7 separate regions of the Homo sapiens genome follow, and regions 1, 2, 3, 4, 6 and 7 are each linked to region 5. Evidence: promoter capture Hi-C in 16 types of primary human blood cells and fetal thymus (Javierre and others, 2016). All regions are on one chromosome and are shown on one strand. Each heading gives the region's core, a stretch centred on a gene start or on the middle of the fragment in contact. The rest is flanking DNA. Distances are from core to core; before and after follow the strand shown.

Region 1 (3,196 bases), core at 254-2,753, 1.3 Mb after region 5:
AATGTTTTCAGGCATAATAAACAAATTGAACCTTATTATTACCTCAGCTTGGCTTGCCACCTAGAGGCAGTTTTCGAGCTTTAATAGATGGAGGGTTTATTAGTCTGTTTTCACGCTGCTATAAAGAATGACCTGAAACTGGGTAATTTAAAAAGGAAAGAGGTTTAATTGACTCACAGTTCCTCATGGCTGGGGAGGCCTCAGGAAACTTACAATCATGGTGGAAGGTGAAGGGGAAGCAAGGCATGTCTTTAAGAGGTGGCAGGAGAGAGAGAGAGACAGAGAGAGAGAGAGAGAGACAGAGAGAGCAAAAGTGCAGGGGAAACTGCCGCTTTTAAACCGTCAGATCTCATGAGAACTCCCTCACTATCACAAGAACAGCATAGGGAAAACTGCCCACATGATCCAGTCACCTCCCACCAAGTCCCTTTCTTGACACATGGGGGATTACAATTTGAGATAAGATTTAGGTGGGGACACAGAGCCAAACCATATCAGAGGGAAACCTCGAACAGATCCTGGCAGTCTACCTTAGTGGAGGGATTAGAAATTAGAGTTCATGGAGACTAAAGTGGATAGAGATTTTGGGTGGGGGGGGGGGGTTGGTGAAGAGAGAGAGAGAGAGATAAGAGAGAATATACCCAGAGATCACAAAGGGGTCCCTTGAGCCTTGGTATGTGCATGTGAGAGAGAAAGATACCCCTGGCAGGGGTAAGAACTGCTGGGAGGCAATAAGCCAAATAATTCCTGAAGCTCACTTAAGGCTGGGAAGAGTTTGTGTTCCCATCAGTTAGAGTGGAAAGACCTTATTACACTGTATTATATAGGGGCATTGAATAGAATCCTCAGAAGAATACCTCAGTAGTGAAGTTAGTAGTGAGGCTAAATTAGCCCTGGACTAAAATATACTCTGGATTTCCCTAACAAGCCTCAAAAGAGGTAGACTGCTACTAAGTAACATAACTGCGTGCTAGAACAAAGCCTAAGACTACTAGAAGGGTTACAACAAAATCTACCACCCTATTAAGTGAGGTTTCAATGTCGCAAAGCAATAAAACATTTACCAGACAGTAGAAAGAATAAGAAACCTAACCCATAATCAGAAGAAAAATGTCAATAAATAGAAACAGCACCAGAAATGACAGAGGTGATGTAATGACTAAAATTGTCTATTGTAAATATGCTTCACATCATGAGTAAGGTATAGGGAAGCATGAGCATGATGAAGAGAGATATAGATAATAGAAGAAGACAAATCAAAGTTATAGAGATGAAAAATACAATAGATTCTTCATTTCATCTCTGAAATGAATAGATTGAACGGGATCAACAGCTGATTAGATACTGCAGAAGAAAAGATGAGTGAAATTGAAGGAGCAATAGAATCTATCAAAAATGAAGCTCAGGGAGAAAAATGACTAATAGAAAAATGAACAGAGCATCAGTGACCTCAGGAACAAAGTCAGGAGATCTAATATAATTGGAACCACTGAAGCAAGGTGGAGGAGTGTAAAAAGAGAAGACATAATGGCCAAATGTTTGTCCAACTGTCATGAAAAGTATAAACTCATAGATCCTAGAAACTCAAAGAATCCTAAGACGGAAAAGCATCCTAAGAAAATCACACCAATACACATTGTAATTGAATTTTAGAAAACCAGTTTTGATAAAGAGAAAAATCATAATAGCAGCCAGAGGAAAAAAAAAAGGCACTGTCTCAACAGAAACTTCTCATCAGAAACTACACAAACTGGATGACAGTCCTCCAAGTGTTGAAAGAAAAAAAACCTGTCAATCTAGAATTCTATGTCCAGGTTTTTGATTTTTTAAAAATAAAGGTGAATAAACAATTCTCCAGACAAACAAAAGAGGTAAAATTCATTGTCAGCAAACTAAATATAAGAAATATTAAGGGAAGTTATTCAGGCAGAAGGAAAATGATGCCAGATGGAAACTTGTGTATTCACATAGGAATAAAAAATGCCAGAAATCATAAATATATGGATACATGAAAAATACTTAATTTTCTTAGTTTTTAAGTCTCTTTAACAGATAATTGACTGCTTAAAGCAAAATAGAAATAATGTACTGTTGGCTTTATAACATATATAGAAGTAAGGTATATGATAAGGACACTGTAACTTACCATAGTTGTGTTAAGCAGCTTCTAAGATGCTCCCCAACAGTCTCTGCATTCTACTGTTCAACTCTAATATAGTCTCATCCTGCATGGCATAGGGCCAAACTCTGTAAAGAATAGAATATGGAGAACTGACAATGTATGGATTTTAAGCCTAGGTCAAAAAGATATTGGAGCTTCCAACTTGCTCCTTTTTGCATTGCTCCTCTGAGGAAAACCCAACTGCCATGTCCTGAGGATGCTCACATCTACAGAGAGTTTACATGGAGAGAAACTGAAGTCTCCAGCCAAGACCCAGCATCAACTTCCCAGTTACGTGAGTGAGCCATCTTGGAAGCAAATTTTGCAGCACCAGTAAAGTGTTTAGATAACTGCAACCCCTTTCGACATCTTTTATTTATTTATTATTATTATACTTTCAGTTTTAGGGTACTTGCGCACAATGTGCAGGTTAGTTACATATGTATAGATGTGCCATGTTGTTGTGCTGCACCCAGTAACTCGTCATTTAACATTAGGTATATCTCCTCATGCTATCCTTCCTCCCCACCCCACCCCACAACAGGCTCTGGTGTGTGATGTTCCCCTTCCTGTGTCCATGTGTTCTCATTGTTCAATTCCCACCTGTGAGTGAGAACATGCAGTGTTTGGTTTTTTTGTGCTTGTGATAGTTTGCTGAGAATGATGGTTTCCAGCTTCATCCATGTCCCTACAAAGGATATGAACTCATCATTTTTTATGGCTGCATAGTATTCCATGGTGTATATGTGCCACATTTTCTTAATCCAGTCTATCATCGATGGACATTTGGGTTGGTTCCAAGTCTTTGCTATTGTGAATAGTGCCGCAATAAACTTACCTGTGCCTGTGTCTTTATAGCAGCATGATTTATAATCCTTTGGGTATATACCCAGTAATGGGATGGCTGGGTCAAATGGTATTTCTAGTTCTAGATCCCTGAGGAATTGCCACACTGACTTCCACAATGGTTGAACTAGCTTACAGTCCCACCAACAGTGTAAAAGTGTTCCTATTTCTCCACATCCTCTCCAGCAC
Region 2 (3,291 bases), core at 758-3,257, 1.2 Mb after region 5:
TGGCAAGAGTAGCTATAATCTACTCATTTAGAAAAAATCCTGAATATAACATTCTATTATTGACTATAGTCCTCACATTGTATATTAGATCTTTCCATTTGTTCATCGTATATATTTGCTAATTTGTATCCTTTGGCCTAATATCTTCCCAATTCCTATCCCACACTCCAACCCTGGTAATCACTGTTTTATTCTCTCTATGTCTGACTGCTTTAAAAAAATTCACAGAAAGCATTTGTGGAGGCTGAGCAAGATGGCTGAATAGAAGCCTCCACCAATAGTCTTCCCTGCAGGAACACCAACTTTAACAACTATCTACACAAAAAGCACCTTCATGACAAACAAGCAGGTGCATGATCATAGTACCTGGTTTTAACCTCACATTACCCAAAGAGGCACTGAATAGGATAAGAAAGACAGCCTTAAATTGCTGACAATGCTCTTCCAGCATTCCTCAGCAGCGGCCACATGGTACAAAGACAGCCTGTGCCCTTGGGGGTGGGAGAATGCAGCATCTGTGGACTTTGCATTGGAACTCGGTGCTACCTTGTCACAGTGAAAAGCAACACGGGACAGAACTCAGCCACCACCCATGGAGGGAGCATTTAGACCAGCCCTATCCAGAGCGGGTAGCCTATCCCAGTAGTCAGAACCTGTGTTCTGGCAAGCCTCGGCACTGTGGACTAAAGCGCTCTGGGTCCTAAATAAAGTTGAAAGGTAGTCTAAGCCGCAAGAACTGTGATTCCTGGGCAAGTCCTGGTGCTGTGCTGGGCGCAGAGTCAGTAGATTTGGCAGGCATATGACCTAGTGAGACACCAGCCCAGGTGGCCAAGGGAGTGTGTGTGTCACCCCTCCCCGCATACCAAGGCAGCACAGCTCACAGCCCCAGAAGAGAGTTCTTTCTTTTGCTTGGGGAGAGGAGAGGGAAGAGTAAAGAGGAGTTTGTCTTACAACTTGGATATCATAGGGGTAGTTTGCAAATATTTTCTCCTATTCTGTGGGTTGTCTCTTCACTTTGTTGACTGTATCCTTTGCTCAGCAAAAGCTTTTTAACTTTATATCACGTTAGTTCATTTTCTAACTCTTTGCCTTTCAAAAATTTCTCCAGGTATTTTCAATGAGCTTTTTCAAACACAACAACATTCTAAAAATGTTTCACACATCAGTAGTTTGAAGAAAATTTTCCCAAGACATGTAGGGCCATCTTTTCAATTTTAATCTTTTCCTGGCTATTAATGTACACAACTCATTTTCCCTGACCTTTTGCAAGTGTTACTTGTGTGAATAGTACCATTGACAAAAATGCTATTTCTTTCAAGAGTTTGATAATAAGATTTCTCTCTGCCCAGTAAATTAAAAAATCATGATAGTCTTTGCTGAGGGTCACACTGAGCTGAGAGGTATCTCAGGGGCATCTTTAGGAGTTAGCAACATAGCAGAATATATCGAGACCCATGTCAAGAACTACAGAACTGCCGCTTTTGACAGCTGCTTCCCCAACCAGAGCCAGTTCAGGAACTGCTGGCAGAACTACCCAGATTTCTACCACTGTGGAAAGGTAATGATGTCTGAAGAGAGTGATGTCTCTGGGTGCAAATGGTAGTGGGAATGTGTACAAATCCCCCAGCATCATATTCTGGGTCTTAACCTGGGGTGACCACGGGGCAGAAGCCACAATTCCTGGAAAGATGAGAATGAGTTCTGCCCCACTTTTCCTCGGTCCTAAGTCCTTCTCCCAGGGTGATAAAGGGGGACTTGGGTACATGGAGCTCATCGTGGGACCCTGAATCATGACTTAAGTGATAATAAAAGCTTACTGGAAGAGTGGGGAAAAAGTCATGACATGAAGGATTAGAGGAGAGATTTGCAGTTGTCTTAAAGAAATAGTCTACTCCCCTCCTGAGGTAGAGTTCAGCTTCGTCCACTTTTCTGCTGTGTGCACTATGGCAAATGCAGCAAGACATAGAGATATGGATGTGCCTCAACGCATCCAGTAAGTTGAGAGAAAACCTCAAGTTGCAAATGGATATGAACAGTGTAGTACCATTTATGAAATGACATAATTATGTATGGATATATTCATATGTAGTCAGATTTGTAAAAAGTACTTGGAAATGATTCATATTTACCTTAGGATAGTTGTTTAAACTGAGGAGAAAAAAGGTGGTGATGATGAGAGAAAGATAAGGAGATGAAGCTTTCCTTCTATTTATAGTGTTTTATTTCTTAAAATCTGAAAGAGGCTGGCATAGTGGTGCACATCTGTAATCCCAGCACTTAGGGAGGCTGAGGCAGGGGGATTGCTTGAGGCCAGAAGTTCAAGGCTGCAGTGTGCTATGATCATGCCATGGCACTCCAGCCTTGGTGCCAAAGCGAGACCCTGTCTCAAAAAAAAAAAAAAAAACTCTGGAAACAAATATGGTAAAATATTAACACCTTATGTGTGTGGTACATGAAATCCTTGTTATATTCTGTACATATGAAATAGTTTATAATTTGAAAAACAGCTAGTTTTCTAGGAAGTATTAACATACCTAAAGAATGAGCTAATTAAAATTGGTGGCAGAAGGTCAGAGAAGTTATCCTTGTAGTATCCATTCATGCATTTCTTGGGCAAATACTCAAGTCTAAAGCCCCATTTACAGTATTTCTGTTGGGAAGATGACTAGACGCCCCCTATCTATGTTCCTTTATTTACAATTTAGGCTTGAGCACAAATCTGACTACTAGAAGAGAAGGTATTCCCCAAGAAATTATGGAGGCCCAGCAGCAGTTCTATTACTTGCCCTTAAAAATGGCATTGCATTCTGATTTTATTAAAAAAGTTTATTATCAGCCTAGTGCCAAAATCTGTGTTTGAGTTTACAGAACTGAGGGTCAGAATGCCACTTTCTTTCTAATTTCCATATTGGATTTGGTGAAGATTTTCCAGCTCCTAAGGCCTGATTGTTCCTAGTAGACAGGTACATTATATTTGGTTGTTTTTGTTTTTGTTTTCTTCTTTTATCCCTAATCTGATCTCCTTGAGGGCAAGAATACTTCTTCTCTATTTTTTTCTCCTCCAAGAGTTCAATACACGTTTGGTGAAAAAATAGTGTTTCAATCTAGAAGAAATGGATAAGTTCCTGGACACATACCCCCTTCCCAAGACTAAACCAGGAAGAAGTTGAATCCCTGAATAGACCAATAACAGGCTCCGAAATTGAGGCAATCATTAATAGACTACCAACCAAAAAAAGTCCAGGACCAGACAGATTCACAGTCGAATTCTACCAGAGGTACAAGGAGGAG
Region 3 (3,337 bases), core at 467-2,966, 1.1 Mb after region 5:
AGAAATCAAATGAGTAGCAAAATATCTGCAAAGGGAGAGAAGAACATTAATTGGAACAAGCAGAAGATAACAATTCTAAGTATATTGTCCCAAATCTTAATGGATCAGTCTTAGTTACGAGAATAGTTCAGTCCGGTTAAGCAGTTGTATCTCATATTAGGAGGCAATGTTGTAGGTGGGCTCCCATCTAAGTTAGACCTCTAGATGATGTAAGCAAACAAGTGCTATATAAGAGGCATTTCTTTGGGGGGAAAAAAAAGGAAAAAGTATAATAGTTGGAGCAAGTTGTAAACCCATTTTTTTAGTCCAGTGGGCAGTCAGTTGAGAAGATGTTTAGATGTTGGGCTTTTAAGCATCTTTAGATAGAGGAGTGAGTACAAGTAGTGGCAATTGTGATGAATTTCCTGGTTTGTAGTCTGAATATCTCTGGTAATGCCATTGGGTGTGCTGATGAACTTTCTAAGTGATCTATATAGCAGCAGGCATGAAAGTTGTTCACACATGATCTCATAGAATGATTTCTCTGAAGTTTATATTAGGTTGTCCAGTTTCAGCTTTCAGGGTCTTAGGAAAAGGGCAATTTTAATTTTTTAGAGATTTCAAGTCAGAAGGATGGGAGAAATTTGGAAATATTAATTTGGAGAGTTGTAGTCAAATATTAGAGGAAACCAGAAGAACTCATGATCTAGTAATATGAGTATTTTGGAAATAGTCATATTAATAACATAACAAATATAGCTCAAAGAAGGGTTAAATATAATCTCTTATTTAACAGTGCATCCCATGTACGTTCAGCATCCCAAATAAGTCTAATTAGTTTAGGATCTCTCTTTTTATAAGGTGAGAGGATAAATGCTTTTCAGACATTTCAGGGTCCCATTTTGAACACTTCTGGCTGGGTGCAGTGGCTCACGCCTGTAATCCCAGCACTTTGGGAGGCTGAGGCAGGTGGATCACTTCAGGTCAGGAGTTCGAGACCACCCTGGCCAACATGGTGAAACCCCGTCTATACTAAAATACAAAAATTAGCTGGGTGTGGTGGTGGACACCTGTAATCTCTGCTACTTGGGAGGCTGAGGCAGGAGAATCCTTAAACCCCGAGGCAGAAGTTGCAGTGAGCTGAGATTGCGCCACTGCACTTCAGCCTGGGCGATAGAGCGAGACTCCTTCTCAAAAGAAAAAAGAAAAGAAAAATTTGATTTCAGAAAGTTGTCAAAAATGTCAAAATGTTTAAACACTTGATAAAAGAGGATCACAATTAACTGTGAAACCATACCAGAGTAACAAAAGATTTTAAAGGCAAATATGGAAACTTAAAAAAGGTTGTAGGGAAAAGCTTAGCTTCTTTAACAGGGCTCAGTTTTTTAAAATTATTGAGACCTGATAAAAGACAACATGAAGCACAAGAAATTATTTTGGTAAAACACAAAATCTTTGTTTTCTAGGCAAATTATTTAAAAGATAAAGTAAAATGGTTTTATAGTTTTCTTATCAACGTCAGACTAATCCCCAAGAAAACTTTGTTCTTTTAATAGAGAAGACCAAATTCTAGTTTTGAGTCAGTTTACTCCTTATATTAAGGCTTATTCTAAAAAATCTTGTAGTAAATTCATTCAATTTACTCAGCTTGATTATATAAGATTTCCTCTTTTGTTCTCTTTTTGACTTTCTGTATCCTTTCAGTTTTTATCCTTCATTCATTGATTCTTTCTGAAACAACCTTTGAAATAGCTCTAAACTAAAACAAAATTACTCTTTCCATAACAAAAATACATCTTTCATATCTTATAACTTTTCTTACCAAAAATGTCTATTTTCCTTGTGTACTTTGTATACAAAGTTGTTTCCCCTATTATTTCTAGTAACTTTGAGTATATACATTAATTAGATTCTTAACTCCTAATGACTTCGGTTTCTGGTGAGAACTCGGAAGCAAGCATTGTCTTTCATAAATCAGTGAATACATTATTTCTTAATTTCTGGAAATATATGCTATCTTATAGCACAATTTGTCAGTGTGGCACAGGACATGTTTATTAATAGACCCAAATATTTTTTGTTCCTCTGTAACAATAAGTCAAACATAAACAAGCTTAAACTTATTTTCAGCAGTTAATGTTTGAGTATTATATTTTACTTGGAAATGATCTAGACATTCCATGAATATCCATCATTTCAGTTAATATAACTTAAGGTTTTAAGTCACCAAAAAGATTCTGGAAACTACGTTTAGATAGACATAGCTTATAAAACGTATCAGTGTTGAAAAGTTTATTTATAAACTGTTATTCTATTTACATTAACATTTATTAATTTACTTTGTTTTAACAATTATACTTGGATTGTTCATGAAAACTTCGTGAGACATTGCATCTCATCATTAACTTATTGTTTTGCTGATCATTTTTATCCTTATCTATATATATTAGGCAAGTATTAAACACTATCGAAATAAAGCACCTACAAAGTTAAACATTCAGCCTTTCCTTTTTCTCTTTTACTGTCATGCTTGACATACATTAGGTAATTTACTTTTATTGTACATTTTATTCTTAGATTGAATTTATAATTTTACAATCTTAAACATATGTAAGATTTTTGATTAGTAAATCCAGGTAGAATAAGTTGTATGCATTATATTTAATGTTGACAATTCTGAAGGTATGCCTGCTTTAATTAAACCACTAACCTTAAACTAGCGTTTTTTTAACCGAAGGATTATCTCAGATCACATGACCTTAAAGAACATTTAAGTTAGTTTTTATTTGTCCTGAGATAATATTTTATTTATGTAAGCACTTATTTTCTTGCTTTAAACCATATCTTCCCATAGGTACCAATAGGACAGTTTTGGTGGTTTTTTGTTTGTTTCTGGAATGAGAGCTATCCATAAAAATACTTTTAGTTAAGAAAAAGCAAATCTACTACATAATCTAATTATACCTACTTTAATTTTGACTAAAAACCAATAAGCTTTTTTTATGGCTTAAAATCAGTAAGTCTTTTCATCCTAGATGCAAGAGCATGTTCCAAAGAGGGTGCAAAAGATGCAGTCCACCTCAAGATCCAAAGTTACTCCCAAAAATAGCCTAAGAAAGCCAAGACCTCCATTGTTAACAAGGCATGGAAGGTAGAGACAGTTAAGACAAATTCCCCTGAGAGATGGCATTGTCAGTCACAGTAAGAGACAGTTTGTGTTTTTGACTCCTAGCCAGCGGGCTAGCTGAGCTGCCTGATGCAAGCCTAACAACTTGCACCCCCAATGGCTGGCAGAGACCAGAGATAATATTTTCACTAGTCACAAAGCTGAGCTCTCAAGACATAAAAGAAAATAAAA
Region 4 (3,572 bases), core at 1,055-3,554, 1.3 Mb after region 5:
GGGATTGGTAGTTTGTTCTTGCAGTTGATCTGGAGCTTAAATTCACAATGTGAGCCTACATGCTGCTCTGTCCAGAGCTGCAATCTAGTCCTGCTTCCTGTCCACCATGATGATCCTTCAGTGTACAGACCTTTGACCCCTGATAAAATTTACTCCTCTGTACTTTTTGGATATGATTGTAAGTGGGACTGCTTTCTTAATTTCTTTTTCAAACAGCACATTGTTAATGTACAGACATACTTCTGATTTTTGTAAATTGATTTTTTATCTTGCAACTTTACTGAATTTATTTATCACTTCTAACAGTTCTTTGGTGGAGTCTTTATAGTTTTTTTTTTATATATAGGATCATGTTGTCAGCAAGCAGAGACAGTTTCACTTTTTCCTTTCCTAATTGAATGCCTTTTATTTATTTTTCTTGCCTAATTGCTCTGGTAGGACTTCCAATATTATGTTGCACAGAGGTGGTAAGAGTGTGCATCCTTGTATTATTCCTTATCCTAGAGGAAAAGTCATCATGTTTTCACCATTGAATATGTTGAAGTCATCATGTTTTCACCGTTGAATATGTTAGGTGTGTGCTTCTCATATATGGACTTTGTTGTGTTGAGGAACATTCCTTCTATACCTAATTTGTTGAGAGTTTTTGTTGTGAGAGGAGGTTTAATTTTGTCAAATGCTTTTGTGCACCTATTGAGATGATCATATGTTTTTTGTCCTTCATTCTGCCAATATAGTGAATCACATTTATTGATTTGTGAATGTTGATCATCTTCACATCCCAGAGATAAGTCCCATTTGATCATGGTGAATGATCCTTTAATGTACAGTTGAATAGAGTTTGATAGTATTTTGGTGATAATTTTTGCATCTATGTTCATCAGTGATGTTGGCCTGTACTTTTCTGATAGTGACTTTGGCTTTGGTATCAGGGTAATGCTGGCCTTGTAAAATGAGTTTGGAAGTATTCTCTTTTCTTCAATTTTTTGTTAGAGTTTGAGAAGGATTGATATTAGTTCTTTAAATGTTTGGTAGCATTCAACCATGAAGCCATTTGGGTCTGGGCTTTTCCTTGATGGGACATTTTTGACTACTAATTCAATCTCTTTGCTCATTATTGGTCTGTTCAGATTTCTGATTTCTTTATGATTCTGTCTTGCTAGGTGATATGGTTTGGTTGTGTCCCCACCCAAATCTCATCTTGAATTGTAACTCCCACAATTCGCATATGTTGTGGGAGGAACCTGGTGGGAGGAGATTGAATTATGGGGGCAGGTCTTTTCTGCACTGTTCTCATGATAGTGAATAAGTCTCATGAGATCTAATGGTTTTTAAAAGGGGAGTTCCCCTGCACAAGCTCTCTCTCTCTTTGCCTGCTGCCATCCATGTAAGACGGGACTTGCTCCTTGCCTTCTGCCATGATTGTGAGGCCTCCTCAGCCACGTGGAACTGTAAGTCCATTAAACTTCTCTTTCTTTTGTAAATTGCCCAGTCTCGGGTATGTCTTTTATCAGCAGCGTGAAAACGGACTAATACAGTAGGCTATTTGTTTCAAGGAATTTATTAATTTTTTGTATGTTGTCGAATTTGTTTGTATATGATTGTTTATATTAGTCTCTTATGATGCTTTCTGTTTTTGTGTAATAAGTTGCAATGTCTCCTCTTTCATTTTTGAAATGAGTTTTGGTTGAGTCTTCTCCCTTTTTTTCTTAGTCTAGCTAATGGTTTGTCAATTTTGTTTACCTTTTCAGAAAAAAACCTCTTAGTTTCATTCATCTTTTGTATAACTTTTCTAGTCTCGATTTTATTTACTTTTGCCCTGATCTTTCTTATTTTTTTCTTCTTCTAACTTTGGGCTTAGTTTGTTATTCTTTTACTAGTTCTTGGGGTGGAATATTAGTTTGTTTATTTGCAGTTTTCCATTTTTTTGAGGTAGGGATTTACTGCTATGAAATTCGCTCTTAGAACTGCTTTTGCTACCACCATAAATTTTGGCATGTTGTGTTTCCATTTTTGACTTAGTGTTTCCATTTTAAAATTTCCCTTTTAATTTCTTTGACCAAATAGTTGTTCAGGAGCATATTGTTTACTTTCCATACAGCTGGCAATTTTCCTGATTTCTCCTGTTATTTACTTCTAGTTTTATGCCATTTTGGTTGGAAAAAATACTTGATATGATTTTGATACTTTTAAATTTGTTAAGTTTTCTTTGTGGCTTAACACATGATATATCTGGGAGAATATTCTGCATCCACTTGAGAAGAATGTGTATTCCATTGCTGTTGGGTGGCATGTCAAGTACATGTCTATTATGCCCATTTGGTCTAAAGTATAGTTCAAATCCAGTGTTTCCTTATTGATTTTATTTCTGGGTGATCTGTCTTTTGTTGTAAGTGGGGTATTGAAATATCCTATTATTGTGTTGCAGTGTGTTTCCTTTCAGATCTCTTAATGTTTGCTTTATTTCTCCATCTTTTTTTATTTTTTGGCAGGATTTTGCCCTGTTGCCCAGACTGGAATGCAGTGGCACAATCACAGCTCACTGCAGCCCTGACCTCCCAGGCCCAAGCAAACAGCTGGGACCACAGGTGTACACTACCATACCTGGCTAATTTTTAAATTTTTTGTAGAGTTGGGCTCTCCCTATGTTGCCCATCCTGGTCTTGAACTCCTGGGCTCAAGTAATCCTCCTGCCTTGGCCTCCAAAAGTGCTGGGATTATAGTCATGAGCCACCATGCCCGGCCTGCCTTATATATTTAGATGCTCTGCTATTGGGTGCACACACACACACACATTTATGTATATATTTACATATATATATTTACAATTGTTTGCTCCTTTTAATGAATTAAACCCTTTACCACAGTATAATGACCTTGTCTCTTTTTACAGTTTTGACTTAAAGTCTATTTTTTTCTGAAATAAGTATACCTACCCCTGCTGTCTTTTGTTTTCTATTTGAATGAAATATATTTTTCCCTCTCTTCATTTTCATTCTATGAGTATCCTTTAAGATGATGTGAATTGTAGACGGCATACAGTTGGGTCTTATTTTTTTAGTGCAGACATTTGCTCTGTGCATTTTGATTGAAAAATTTAGTCCATTTACATTCAAAGTAATTATCGGTAGGTGAAGACTTACTAGTGCCATTTTGTTAATCATTTTCTGGTTGTTTTGTAAATCCTTTGTTTCTGCTTTTCTCTGTTGCTTTCTTCCTTTGTGGCCTGATGGCTTTCTGCTGTAGTATGCTTTGGATCTTTTCTTTTTATCTTTTGTATATCAAATATAGGCTTTTGCTTTGTGATTATCCTGAGGCTTACATAAATCATCTTATAATGTGGTATTTATCTTGGAAACAACTAAATTTTGATCACATATAAAACTTTAAACTTTTACTCCCCTTCCTCTCACATTTTATGTTTTTGATGTCTCACTTTCATCTTTTTATAATTTGTATTCCTCAACAAATTACTGCAGCTTTAGTTGTTTTTAATAGCTTTGTCTTTTAACCTTTATACTAGAGATATAATGGATTTACCCACTGCCATAACAGTGGCAGTGTTTTGGTTT
Region 5 (3,545 bases), core at 954-3,453:
CTGTTTGCATATCTGCACCCTCACTAAACAGCACATACCATGAGATCAAGTAACCAGTTTGTATGTGTGTGTGTGTAGTTCTAGGTACTGTGAAAGTGGAGTTAAATAAAATATGAAAATATAAGTTTAAATAAAACCTCTACTTATAAGTAGTAAGACACATTATAAATTATTATCCTTCTAACTGGGATATCTATTTCCACTGTTGCTTTTTCTCAATCCATTCTCCAATTCTTTGAGTGGCCAGAGCAGGGCAGGAAGCAGGGATGGGGGGCGGTGACCAAAGTAAATATTTACTTAGAATAAGAAAATCAGTGACAACAAATTACAGATTTTTAAAAAGATGATAAATACCACAAATATTTTAGAAATTCAGTAAAATGATATTTTAAATTAACTACCTGAACCATTGCTATGTTTTTCCTATATTTTTAGTTTTCATTTTTTTATTGCCTCATCATTTGACAGTAATTTTGTAATGCACTTTCCCTGGTGATAATGAATAATGTGGTAGTCTTTTCAAAGCAAAGTTAGTCAACATGTATTTTTTGTTATTGAAAGCTTAAAAAAGTTATTGCAGTTTCACAATTTGTTATTGGTAATAATGCCAATTTTTAGTATTGCTAAATTTGGGGAAACTCATCTTAAGGTTCTTAGGTGAACTCTGTGATTTCAGGGCACTTCAAGTTTTCTCAGGCAGTGACTAACCTTTAAGTTGCTAAAAGTCATTAACCTGTTTGTTGTCAAGTTCTTGTTGTAAAGGTATGAATTCTAGATTATCCTTGTAGATGCCAAAATTTTATGTCATTATCAATAAGATTTTGAAAAGTTTCGATATGTTTATATGGTTCATTTTTCTTCCTCAATTATCAAAAAATCAAGGAGTCTGTCTAGTCTAATTTCTCTCTTCCTCTCAATAAATTACTAATACTGATCTGAATTGGAATTCTTCCAATTTACATTTTTGTCACAATAGTTTCTACTGACTTCATACAGTGATATGCACAAAATAATTTTATTGTAAGATGTATATAAAATTATACATGCTTCATTGTTAAGTATATTCCTGAAGAAGAAAACTTCTGTTGTGACTAGATGGATGAGAACCACATCCTGCACTTAAGATTTTCTACATCTGGTGGTTGGAATATATTGATTCCACTGTGCAGACTTCTGGTGCCTCACCCCAAGGGATGCCCTTTTATCATGACCCATCTCTGACCCTGGACCCTAGGTCTCTGATGCCAGGCGAGTTGTCTCAGTGGATAGTAGGAGTGTTTCTGGAAGCCATTTCTAAACGGAGACAGCTCCAATAACTTGACTATACATGGAAGTGCTTGTGAAACTTCATACCTTCCAAAATGGTAAATCCTGATAGTGCCCCACTTAAAACCGTTCAGTGTTTGCCAGTGCATTTTCAACTGTCCTTTTGGTGCTTGGGGACGTGAGGGACTGCCACCTCCACGTCCCTCAGTACAAGCAGACAGTCCCCCTCTGGGGACACTCAAAGATAATGAAAAATTAGCAAAAGGATTGAAGGTGAAGATTAAAAAGAAATGATTCGGATGGAGTTGCCTTAATTCATTTTGTTCCTTTCAGGATGGCAGTCTGTGTGAAACGCTGTATCCCTGGTCTGAGGTAAACCAGGTCTCAAACATCTTCCTCCCTGCCAACCCGAATCCCGACACCCACTAAATGCACCAAGGGGAAAGCAGCGCCTGCCAGCAGCTCTGACGGGGGACAGGAGTAGGGTGGACTCAGTCGTCAGCACGACGGCGGCCTCCCTCACAGAGGCGGCCTCCCTCACAGACGCTGCCTGGAACCCGCCGCCAAGCCCCCAGCAGGCGGCCCGCCTGGCGCCTCCCAGTCTTCGCACAAGCAGGGCCACGGTCTGGGGCCCCCAAGGCCGTTCACGCGGGCGCGCCCCGTCGAGGGCTAGCCTGTCAGCGCCTCACTCGCGGCCTCCTACCCTAGACGACCGGCTCTGGGTGGCGCCGCTCCAACCCCACGCGCCCAGCTCGCCCGGGAAAGCGCGCGCCACCCTTTTAACGGTTCTACCCCGGCAGGGGTGCGGCTGCTCTCGAGGCTCAGCGCCCGAGGCCACGCCCCGCGCCCGCCCTGGGCCCGCCTCGTGCCCCTCGGAGCCGCCTCCCGCCCCGCCCCCCGCCCCTCGCCCCCCGCCCCTCGCCCCCCGCCGCCGCCACCGCGGTCAGCCAGCGGACCAGCGGCAGGAGCCGTTCCCCGACGGGCAGCAGGGCGCTCGGCCTCCGCGTGTGGGCTGAGCGCGGCGACGCTGCTGCCCCGAAATCCCCGTGGATTTTGAGTCGGTAAGTGGCTAGGGAGGATGAGCGACACTGGGGGACGGAAGTCGGGCCCCGTGGTGTGGAGGAGGCGGGTGGGCGCCGTCTCCCAGGCCCGACCCCGGGAAAGTTGAGGCGAGGAAGAGAAGCTCTGAGGTGGGTCGGGAAATCTCTCAGGGCCCCTTCAGTACCCTGTGGACCCTGAATGGGAGTGGGATGGGAGCGAGAGCGTCGGATGAGGGGAAAGAAAGTGTAGGGGGCCAGGGGAGCCCGACGGAGGGGCAAGTGGCCGAGACCAAAGCCATCGCCAAAAAAGGAGCTAAGTACACAGCTCCCCTTGGCTCTGCCCCAGCACCTGGTGCCAGGCGGTGGGAGGCTTTCAAGACGATTTGCCCCCTCCACCCGGTGGCACAAGGTTTTCATTGCTGGTGTTTTAGTCAAAGCTACGGAAAGGACAGTTACATGACTAAAGTAATCACAGACACCTATTACCTGGACAGCTTTAGCCCATCCGAATGTTAAATTGTGTTTTGTTTTGAGAAATCCCTCAAATAGACCAAAAAAAAAATTAAATTAGTTATAAAGAGAAGGCATGAAATGGAAGATATGTTGGAACTCTCCAAGCTTCTAGTTTTTTGATATTTTCGTTTTAATTTTTCCTTAATAGTGCAACCAGATATATGGAACGTGAAATGTCTTTCACCACTTGAGTCATAGGTGGTTTATTTCTTACTCCCCGATGTTTCCTGTATGTTTCTCTTCATCTATCATTTTGTCAGTGTGAGCAGTTTACTTACAAGCAGTATTGGGTTTCAAGGAATCCTAACTTTGTAATGTTTTGAAGTTGGAAATTGAGATGAAATTTTATCTGGTTATCATATGGGAATTATACACAAGGTAAATTCAAATATGGTCTTTTCATTTCATTATTTCACTTTATATGATCTTATTTCTCAACGGCAGCGGTAGCATCAGTACTTTCCAAAGAAGACTAGAATTTATATTGGAGTTTAAGTATAGTACTCAGCTTCTAAAAACAGTGCATAGTATATTTCATATGCTGTGATCTATGGTTAGTATGGCAGTATACCATGTCTGTAGCGTGAGGAAAGCACAGTACTCCCTAATTTATTTAGTATTCTAAGAAAAATGGTAAATTGAAGAAATGGATATTATTAGCATATACCAATTTATTCTGCATGGCCTTATAAATAAATGTTACTTTTCACATTAATTTTTAAATCT
Region 6 (3,524 bases), core at 627-3,126, 1.1 Mb after region 5:
TTTGGTCATTTTAATAGACAGGATACTAATTCAAAGATTATTGGTTTCTGGAGAGTGTAAAAATTCTTGATTGCCAGAACTACCACTCGTCGCAGCAATCCCATTACTGGATATGTAACCAAAGGAATATAAATTATTTTACCATAAAGAGACATGCATGCAAATGTTCATTGCAACACGATTCACAATAACAAAGACACGGAATCAACCTAAATGCCCATCAGTGGTAGACTGGATAAAGACAATGTGGTATATATACACTGTGGAATACTATGCAGCCATAAAAAAGAATGAGACCGTGTCTTTTGTGGGAACATGGATAGAGCTGGAGGCCATTAGCCTTAGCAAACTAACACAAGAAAACCAAATGCCCATGTTCTCACTTATAAGTGGGAGCTAAATGATGAGAACACATGAACACAAAGAAGTGAACAACAGACACTGGGGTCTACTTTGAGGTTGGAGGGTGGGAGGAGGGAGAAGATCAGAAAAAGAGACTACTGGGTACTTGGCTTAGTACCTGGTGATGAAACAATCTGTACAACAAACCCCCATGACACGAGTTTACCTGTGTAACAAACCTGCACGTGTACCACTGAACCTAAAATACAAGTTAAAAATAAGTAAATAAAATAAAGAATTCTTGTTTGCATGGCTAGAAGCTTAAGTTTGGATTAAACCAGCTCTGACTCAAGCAGCTACGTGTGGCAGAGAGAAGGTGGGCTTTTCTTTAAGATGTTAGTATGGTTTGTTTACAGAATATGCAGCTATCATTAGCTGGTGGTGAGGCCCTAACTCTCTGGACTGAGTGTCCATCTTGAGAATCTTTTACACAGAAGCTCTCACTATGTACAGCCTGGAGCACACATCAGCAGCGGACCTTAGGTGGCATGAGGACCAGCTCTGCTTTTACTTTTTGCCTGGCCCCTGCCCAGGGCTTACTTTTTCCATCCAGCCTGTTTATTTTGATTGTGAGACTTTTGCAGAATTCTGCTGGGCAATCTTTTATTTTTAAAGTTCTTGTTCATGGGTCTGGATTCATGGGTTGCTTAGCTCTGTTATATTTCAGCATCAATATATTCCAGAAATTCTTCAATATACTCCAATAACCCCTTCTGAATTTTCTAAAATTTATGGAGATTTATTTTTACTTAATTTTACTCTCCTGACATTTCTATGGGATTTGGGAAGAAAGGTAAATGCATGCATCCAGTCAGCCAGCTGTATCAGGAAGCCACTTACTCCTTTCCATGGTAACCAATTACTAGAAAGCTGCACTGGGAATCACAGCAACCTTGTCCAGTGTGTGCATTTTAGAAGACAGAATTTTTTTTCTGTTCTTACATTAGATCATGCTTAGATCCCTCTCTGAAATTTTTAAAAGATTACTGAGAACAGACGTGTGCTGACATGGACAACTCCTTTTAGTGCTCTGAAAAGTATTTCTCTTGAACAATGAAAATAACTAAATGGAATTAATATTCCTCATCTATCAAATGAACTTTGGGTCTTTCTTAAATGTGCTTGTTTTATCTTTTCCAAGTGCTGAAAGTTTTCATTGAAATTATTTTTCTTGATAGAAAAGAAGAGGATCAGACAGAAGTTGTGTAGTTCCAAGTGTTTATTTTCACCTGTTAAACATTGCGCCACCATCACTAATGATAAGAAATCCTTCTTGTCTTCATTATTTCTCAACATTAATTGCTTTCTCAAGTCTAAACTCATTTATTTATTTATTTTTAGGGATGGGGTCTTGCTGTGTCACTCAGGCTGGAGTGCACTGATGCAGTCATGGCTCACTGCAGTCTCAAACTCCTGGACTCAAGGAATCCTCCTGCCTCAGCCTTCTGAGTAGCTGAGACTTCAGGTGCGCGGCACCATGCCTCACTAATTTTTTTTATTTTTTATTATTTTATAGAAGTGAGGATCTCATTAAGTTTCCCAGGCTTACCTTGAACTCCTGGCTTCATGAACTCATTTAAAGATTTGGCATCCTAGCATTATTCATAGAGGTCCAGACATGACTCTCAATTTGTTTTTTATTTTATATCTCTGCTACAAATTTTTGTACCTGTCCATTTAAAATCTGAGCTTTTGAAAGAACTCTGCACAACATTCACAGCACAAGGGCATTAAGGCAGAAGGGGAAACTAAAGGTCAGAGAATAAGGAGTGAATCATTGGTGATGAAATACAGGCAGTATGAATAGCAAATTATGAAGAATTTGCTGGTGAACTGTTTCACATGTAATAGTTCCTCCTGCTAAGATGGTGGATTCACTGTCACGTCTGACCCATGTTGTTATAACTCTTTTCCACTGAAAGGTACATCTGTGTAATCTAGACCAGCAGACATTTCCTCTGACTTCCATCATGTACACAGTGTCCTATAGATTCCAAAGCTCTTTCAGATATGCTATTACACTTACATTTCCTTCCCATTTTCTTTTTTTTTCCCCCAATAGGAATGGTGTTCTTAGCCTCCCATGTTCATAACAATTTTTTTTTTTTTTTTGAGATGGTGTCTCGCCCTGTTGCCCAGGCTGGAGTGCAGTGACGCAATCGCAGCTCACTGCAACCCCCGCCTCCCAGGTTCAAGCGGTTCTTCTGCCTCAGCCTCCTGAGTAGCCGGGACCACAGGCGCCCACCACCACGCCCAGCTAATTTTTGTAGTTTTTAGTAGAGACGGGGTTTCACCATGTTGACCAGGCTGGTCTTGAACTCCTGACCTCGTGATCCACCCGCCTTGGCCTCCCAAAGCACTGGGATTACAGGCGTGAGCCACCCCGCCCGGCCGTTCTGAACGAAGGAGGTTACTGGTAGCCAGGGGAGAACTGACTGTGCTTTCAGGCATAGAGAAAGGGTTCAGGAGAGGAGGGGAAGTGAAGTCATCAGGTGGGAATGTGTAGCAAGCACCTATCTCCCTGGTTCTTCTATAATCACTCTTTCTCTTCTTTGAAACTCCTTCCTGGCTTCATCCATACTACATGCTCTTGATTTCCCTCTTACATTTCTGGCTCTTCTCAGTCTCCTTTTCTGGCTTCTTTTCATCCATTACAACTTCTAATGTTTTTAAAAAGGCAAAAGCTTGCAGCATCCAAAGTGATATTCTCTATGGAACTTAACATGGGATGTTATTTTTGCCTTGTGAGAAGCACTTTTAGGTTATTCAAAACAAAAGCTGAAACTGGAAAGAAATGTAACCAAATGCTTAGTGTAATAAAAATGTGTTGATGGTCGGGTGTGGTGGCTCATGCCTGTAATCCCAGCACTTTGGGAGGCCGAGGCAGGAGGATCACTCAAAGCCAGGAGTTTGAGACCAGTCTGGACAATACAGCAAGATTCTGTCTCTACAAAAACTAAACTTAAACAAAAAAATTAGCCAGGCATGATGTCACATGCCTGTAATCCCAGCTACTTGGGAAGCTGAGGCAGGAGAATCCCTTGTGCCCAGGAGTTCATGGTTACAGCAAGCTATGATTGTGCAGCCGCACTCCAGCTTGGGTGACACAGCATGACCCTGTC
Region 7 (3,692 bases), core at 608-3,107, 1.2 Mb after region 5:
GAACTACTACTGTAACAAATACAGAACTCTCAAAACTCAACAGTAAGAAAACCAAAGAATCCCTTTAGAAAATGAGCTTAAGACATGAGAGACATTTCACTGAAAACCACGTATGGGTGGCAAATTAGCATATAAAAAGGTGTTCGATATCATTAGCAGTTAGGAAAATGCAAATTAATACCAAGATGAGATATCACTACACATCTATTAGAACAGCTAAACAGAAAACAGTGATAATACCAAATGCTGGTGGGCATTTGGTATTATCATTTTGCTTTGTGAAAGTCCCTGTTAAAAGGATGAAAAGATAAACTATAACTGGGAGGAAATATTTGCAAACTACATATCTGATGAAGAACTACTACTGTAACATATACAGAATTCTCAAAACTCAACAGTAAGAAAACCAAAGAATCCCTTTAGAAAATGATGCGGAATAGCTGGATCTCTCACACATTGCTGGTGGAATGTAAAATGGTACAGCCACTCTGGAAAATAGTTGGATACTTTCTTTAAAAACTAAACACACCCTTACCATATGACCCAGCATTTGCATTCTTGGGCATTTATCACAGAGTAATGAAGACTTATGTTCACTCATAAACCTGTACAGCTTTGTTCACAGCAGCTTTGTAAATAATTACCCCAAAATGGAAAGAACCAAAATGTTCCTGAATGGTTAACTTTGGTACATTTATACTGTGGAATACTACTTATCAATAAAAAACAACTATTGTTACAAGCACAACTTAGACGGATCACAAGAGCATTATGTGACGTGAACAAAGCCAATCTCAAAATATCACATACTATATGATTCCACTTATATAGCATTTTCAAAATGACAAAATTAAAGAGATGGAAAGCAGATTAGTGGTTGTTAGGGGTACAGATTGTGGTAGGGAGGAAGTGGGTGAGGTAGGATGAGTGTTATCTTTGTGGTGATGTTATGAGTAGTGCTGTACCTTGATTGTTGCGGTTACTATGAACACACATTGTACTAATGTCAAATTCCTGGTCTTGAAATTATACTATAATTATGTGTGATATAACAATGTGGGAAACCAGGTGAAGGATACATGAAACCTCTTTATTACCTTTGCAACTTCCTATAAATATATAATAATTTTAAAATAAAAAGTAAAAAAAAAAGGTGATCTTGACAATTCAATTAAGAAACATAATGGCTTTGTATTTTGTACCATAATTCTATCTCTGTCTAGGAATAACTTCCTAACTGCAGTAGGAAGAAGGAGAATAGAAGATAGAAATTAGGGGCTATGGAAATTACTATTCATTAGTCTCTATCTCTAAGGAGAGACATGAAATTGGCTAGGTCGAAGAAATAACTAAAAAGTATTTTTAAAACTATAAGGACAAGGAAACATAAACTTTTTAAAAAAGTAATTACCTTAACATGAAATTCATTGTCCAATAAGATATTCTGAGTCTTCAAGTCATGATGAAGTAAAGGAGGAGTCATATTGTGCAGGTAATTTACACCAAGGGCAATTTCATGCAGGATGCGAAATCTCAATGGCCAAGCAACATCAGGATATTCAGTTTTCTTCATATATATGTGAAAAGAAAGAAAATGAAATTAGTCCAAATTTCACTATGTTTCACACTTAGAAAGTTAAATATTCCATGAGGAAATACAGTATAAACTAAGGTTAAAACATATGCTCATTTTTATAAAATAGCACCAATTTGATAGGGTTTAACATTTTTGTGTCTTACTTTCCTCACTTTATAGAGAAAATTATGATAACTTTATGGCACCAATACTTCCTTTTAGTTTATATTGGTCATGCAACTACATGGTTTTGGGTCTTTCTTCAGCTGACACAAATCTCAATTACTTTGTATCTGTATATAGCCAGAGTCATATACTTACACCCACATCCACCTCCTCATTCTATGTCTTAATCAGGTAATTTGAGTACACACAAATACACACAAAATTACAGACAGTTTTTTTCTAGTAAATACCAAGGCATTCATTCAAAATTTGTATTTTAATTTTTCTATTACTATAAAATCATACATTATAATCACTGCATCAGTTACAAATTATGATCATATTGTATTTATTGACTAAGCATTAATTTATCATACATTTAATCATATAATTAATTTATCTGCATTCCAGCTTATAAAATTAGCCTTTTGTTTTGTTTTTGTGGAAGGGACACTCATTTTTGTTTCTAAAACTGTATAGAACAGACACATTTAAAACATAACATTTTATTTTTCATAGTACTCAAATAATATCCATCTGAGTTTTCTTAAAATAAATGTTTTCTGAACATAAAAGTTAATGTGGCTTCCCAGGAGAATGAACATACTTTGGAAGATCAGGCAATTTGGGAAGATCCACGATGAATCACCAGGCACCATACCACATTTTTCTAAATGCTATGAAAAAGACTGCTTCTACTGAAAGTACAAAACTGTTCTTGAGAAGTTTTTCTGCAAATGCGTCAGCTTATAGTTCAGTGATCAATCTGGCAGGGGGAGTGGTTCAAAATATTTTAGACTGTTTATGATACATCTTGAGTTTTCTCAATGAATTTTGTGAGGTTGGGGGAGGGCACTTCAAGATAAATCCCACCCTAAATAATGCAATACAGGAAACCAAAAGAAACACAAAAAGCTGACGTGGAACATTACTTTCTCTGGCATACACAGAGGCCTGTCCCCTAGAGAAACTTAATCTTTTAATCTGTAAAAAAGGTAACTTTTTCTGAAAATTATGCAGTTTAAAGCAGTTACCAGGCCTCTCTGCAGCATAATATAATATGGGGGCTTGTGATCATGGAGACAAGGGAGAGAAGTGCTCACTGTATATTTTATGATTTTTTTTCCAGGAGTTAGCAATCCCCCTTGAGGAGGCTGTAGAATTTCCAGCGAGCTGCAAATTTGGGTGCCAGAGTATCTGCTGGGGTGTGGGAAGAAAATGTTAGATTTCTACTTATACTCATTTCTCAACAAAAATAAAAGAGAAATTGTGATTTATTAATATTTGTATCTTGGCTCTGTGGTAGTTATACAAATCTTACAGACTGACACCAGTTACTTATTCCATCCTTGTTTCAAATGGTCACAAGTCATGAATAGAATGTGATGTATTCTGAAACTGAGAGGAAGTTACTCTATGACTGACTGACAGTGGCACCCACTTTCCCTTGGCCACTTACAGGGCATTGTGTTACACTATCATTTATGAGTATCTATTGATTGGATTTTGTAGATTAATACAGTTTTAATTAAGCCAACCCTCAAAAAATGGACCAAGTAGTTTAAAAAGATCTACTGAAACTACAGACTCATGATAATATTAATAATGAATACATGTATTTTGAGAATGAGGACCCCTGAATTTGTTTACTCAAGGGATTCATAATCAAAGAGAGAGTGACTGGTACCTTGGGAAAAAGGGTAAATGGCTGATACCACTGTCTATTATTAGAAAAGCTAATGTATCTGGTATTCAGAGATAATTTATTAATATTTGGCCTGCTAATTCAGAACTTTATGAACTGGTATTAATAACATTAAATTTGAATTTGAAATTGCTATTAATATAAAATAAAATATCACTTAACAGTGGATTTTACAGTATGCAGAGTTTATCTCTTCCATTTCTACCCATGTAATATGCATGTAAATACTATAATTTGGTATAAATG

The links. The method cuts DNA at HindIII sites, captures the fragments that hold promoters and counts their contacts. A CHiCAGO score of 5 or more calls a contact.
Region 1: a fragment that was not itself captured here is called in contact with the fragment with the promoter of C8orf88 in region 5 in 1 of 17 cell types (total B cells); the score reaches 5.6 in total B cells.
Region 2: a fragment that was not itself captured here is called in contact with the fragment with the promoter of C8orf88 in region 5 in 1 of 17 cell types (total B cells); the score reaches 6.2 in total B cells.
Region 3: a contact is called between a fragment that was not itself captured here and the fragment with the promoter of C8orf88 in region 5, in 8 of 17 cell types (total B cells, total CD4 T cells, naive CD4 T cells and 5 more). The highest score is 12.6, in total B cells.
Region 4: a fragment that was not itself captured here is called in contact with the fragment with the promoter of C8orf88 in region 5 in 1 of 17 cell types (total B cells); the score reaches 6.0 in total B cells.
Region 6: a contact is called between a fragment that was not itself captured here and the fragment with the promoter of C8orf88 in region 5, in 5 of 17 cell types (naive B cells, total CD8 T cells, naive CD4 T cells and 2 more). The highest score is 8.3, in naive B cells.
Region 7: a fragment that was not itself captured here is called in contact with the fragment with the promoter of C8orf88 in region 5 in 2 of 17 cell types (fetal thymus and total B cells); the score reaches 6.3 in fetal thymus.

The regions. Positions count from the first base shown.
Region 1 is chr8:89,713,684-89,716,879 of GRCh38, reverse strand. No RefSeq gene overlaps it. Among named protein-coding and RNA genes, the nearest start is that of PARAIL, 42 kb to the left of the region's middle. The HindIII fragment of the contact is 6,818 bases long and covers 1-3,196 here.
Region 2 is chr8:89,821,942-89,825,232 of GRCh38, reverse strand. It overlaps the pseudogene COX6B1P6. Among named protein-coding and RNA genes, the nearest start is that of RIPK2, 66 kb to the right of the region's middle. The HindIII fragment of the contact is 385 bases long and covers 1,815-2,199 here.
Region 3 is chr8:89,862,136-89,865,472 of GRCh38, reverse strand. No RefSeq gene overlaps it. Among named protein-coding and RNA genes, the nearest start is that of OSGIN2, 39 kb to the left of the region's middle. The HindIII fragment of the contact is 756 bases long and covers 1,339-2,094 here.
Region 4 is chr8:89,732,191-89,735,762 of GRCh38, reverse strand. All of the region lies in intron 1 of PARAIL (palmitic acid regulated anti-inflammatory lncRNA), which reads left to right. Among named protein-coding and RNA genes, the nearest start is that of PARAIL, 24 kb to the left of the region's middle. The HindIII fragment of the contact is 9,223 bases long and covers 1-3,572 here.
Region 5 is chr8:90,983,896-90,987,440 of GRCh38, reverse strand. It overlaps C8orf88 (chromosome 8 open reading frame 88), which reads left to right and starts at 2,203. Exons shown (of 6, transcript NM_001190972.2): 1 at 2,203-2,327. RefSeq lists a silencer at 2,020-2,179. The HindIII fragment of the contact is 2,363 bases long and covers 564-2,926 here.
Region 6 is chr8:89,840,495-89,844,018 of GRCh38, reverse strand. No RefSeq gene overlaps it. Among named protein-coding and RNA genes, the nearest start is that of OSGIN2, 60 kb to the left of the region's middle. The HindIII fragment of the contact is 2,424 bases long and covers 665-3,088 here.
Region 7 is chr8:89,763,216-89,766,907 of GRCh38, reverse strand. It overlaps RIPK2 (receptor interacting serine/threonine kinase 2), which reads right to left. Exons shown (of 11, transcript NM_003821.6): 3 at 1,412-1,567. Among named protein-coding and RNA genes, the nearest start is that of RIPK2, 7.2 kb to the right of the region's middle. The HindIII fragment of the contact is 7,997 bases long and covers 1-3,692 here.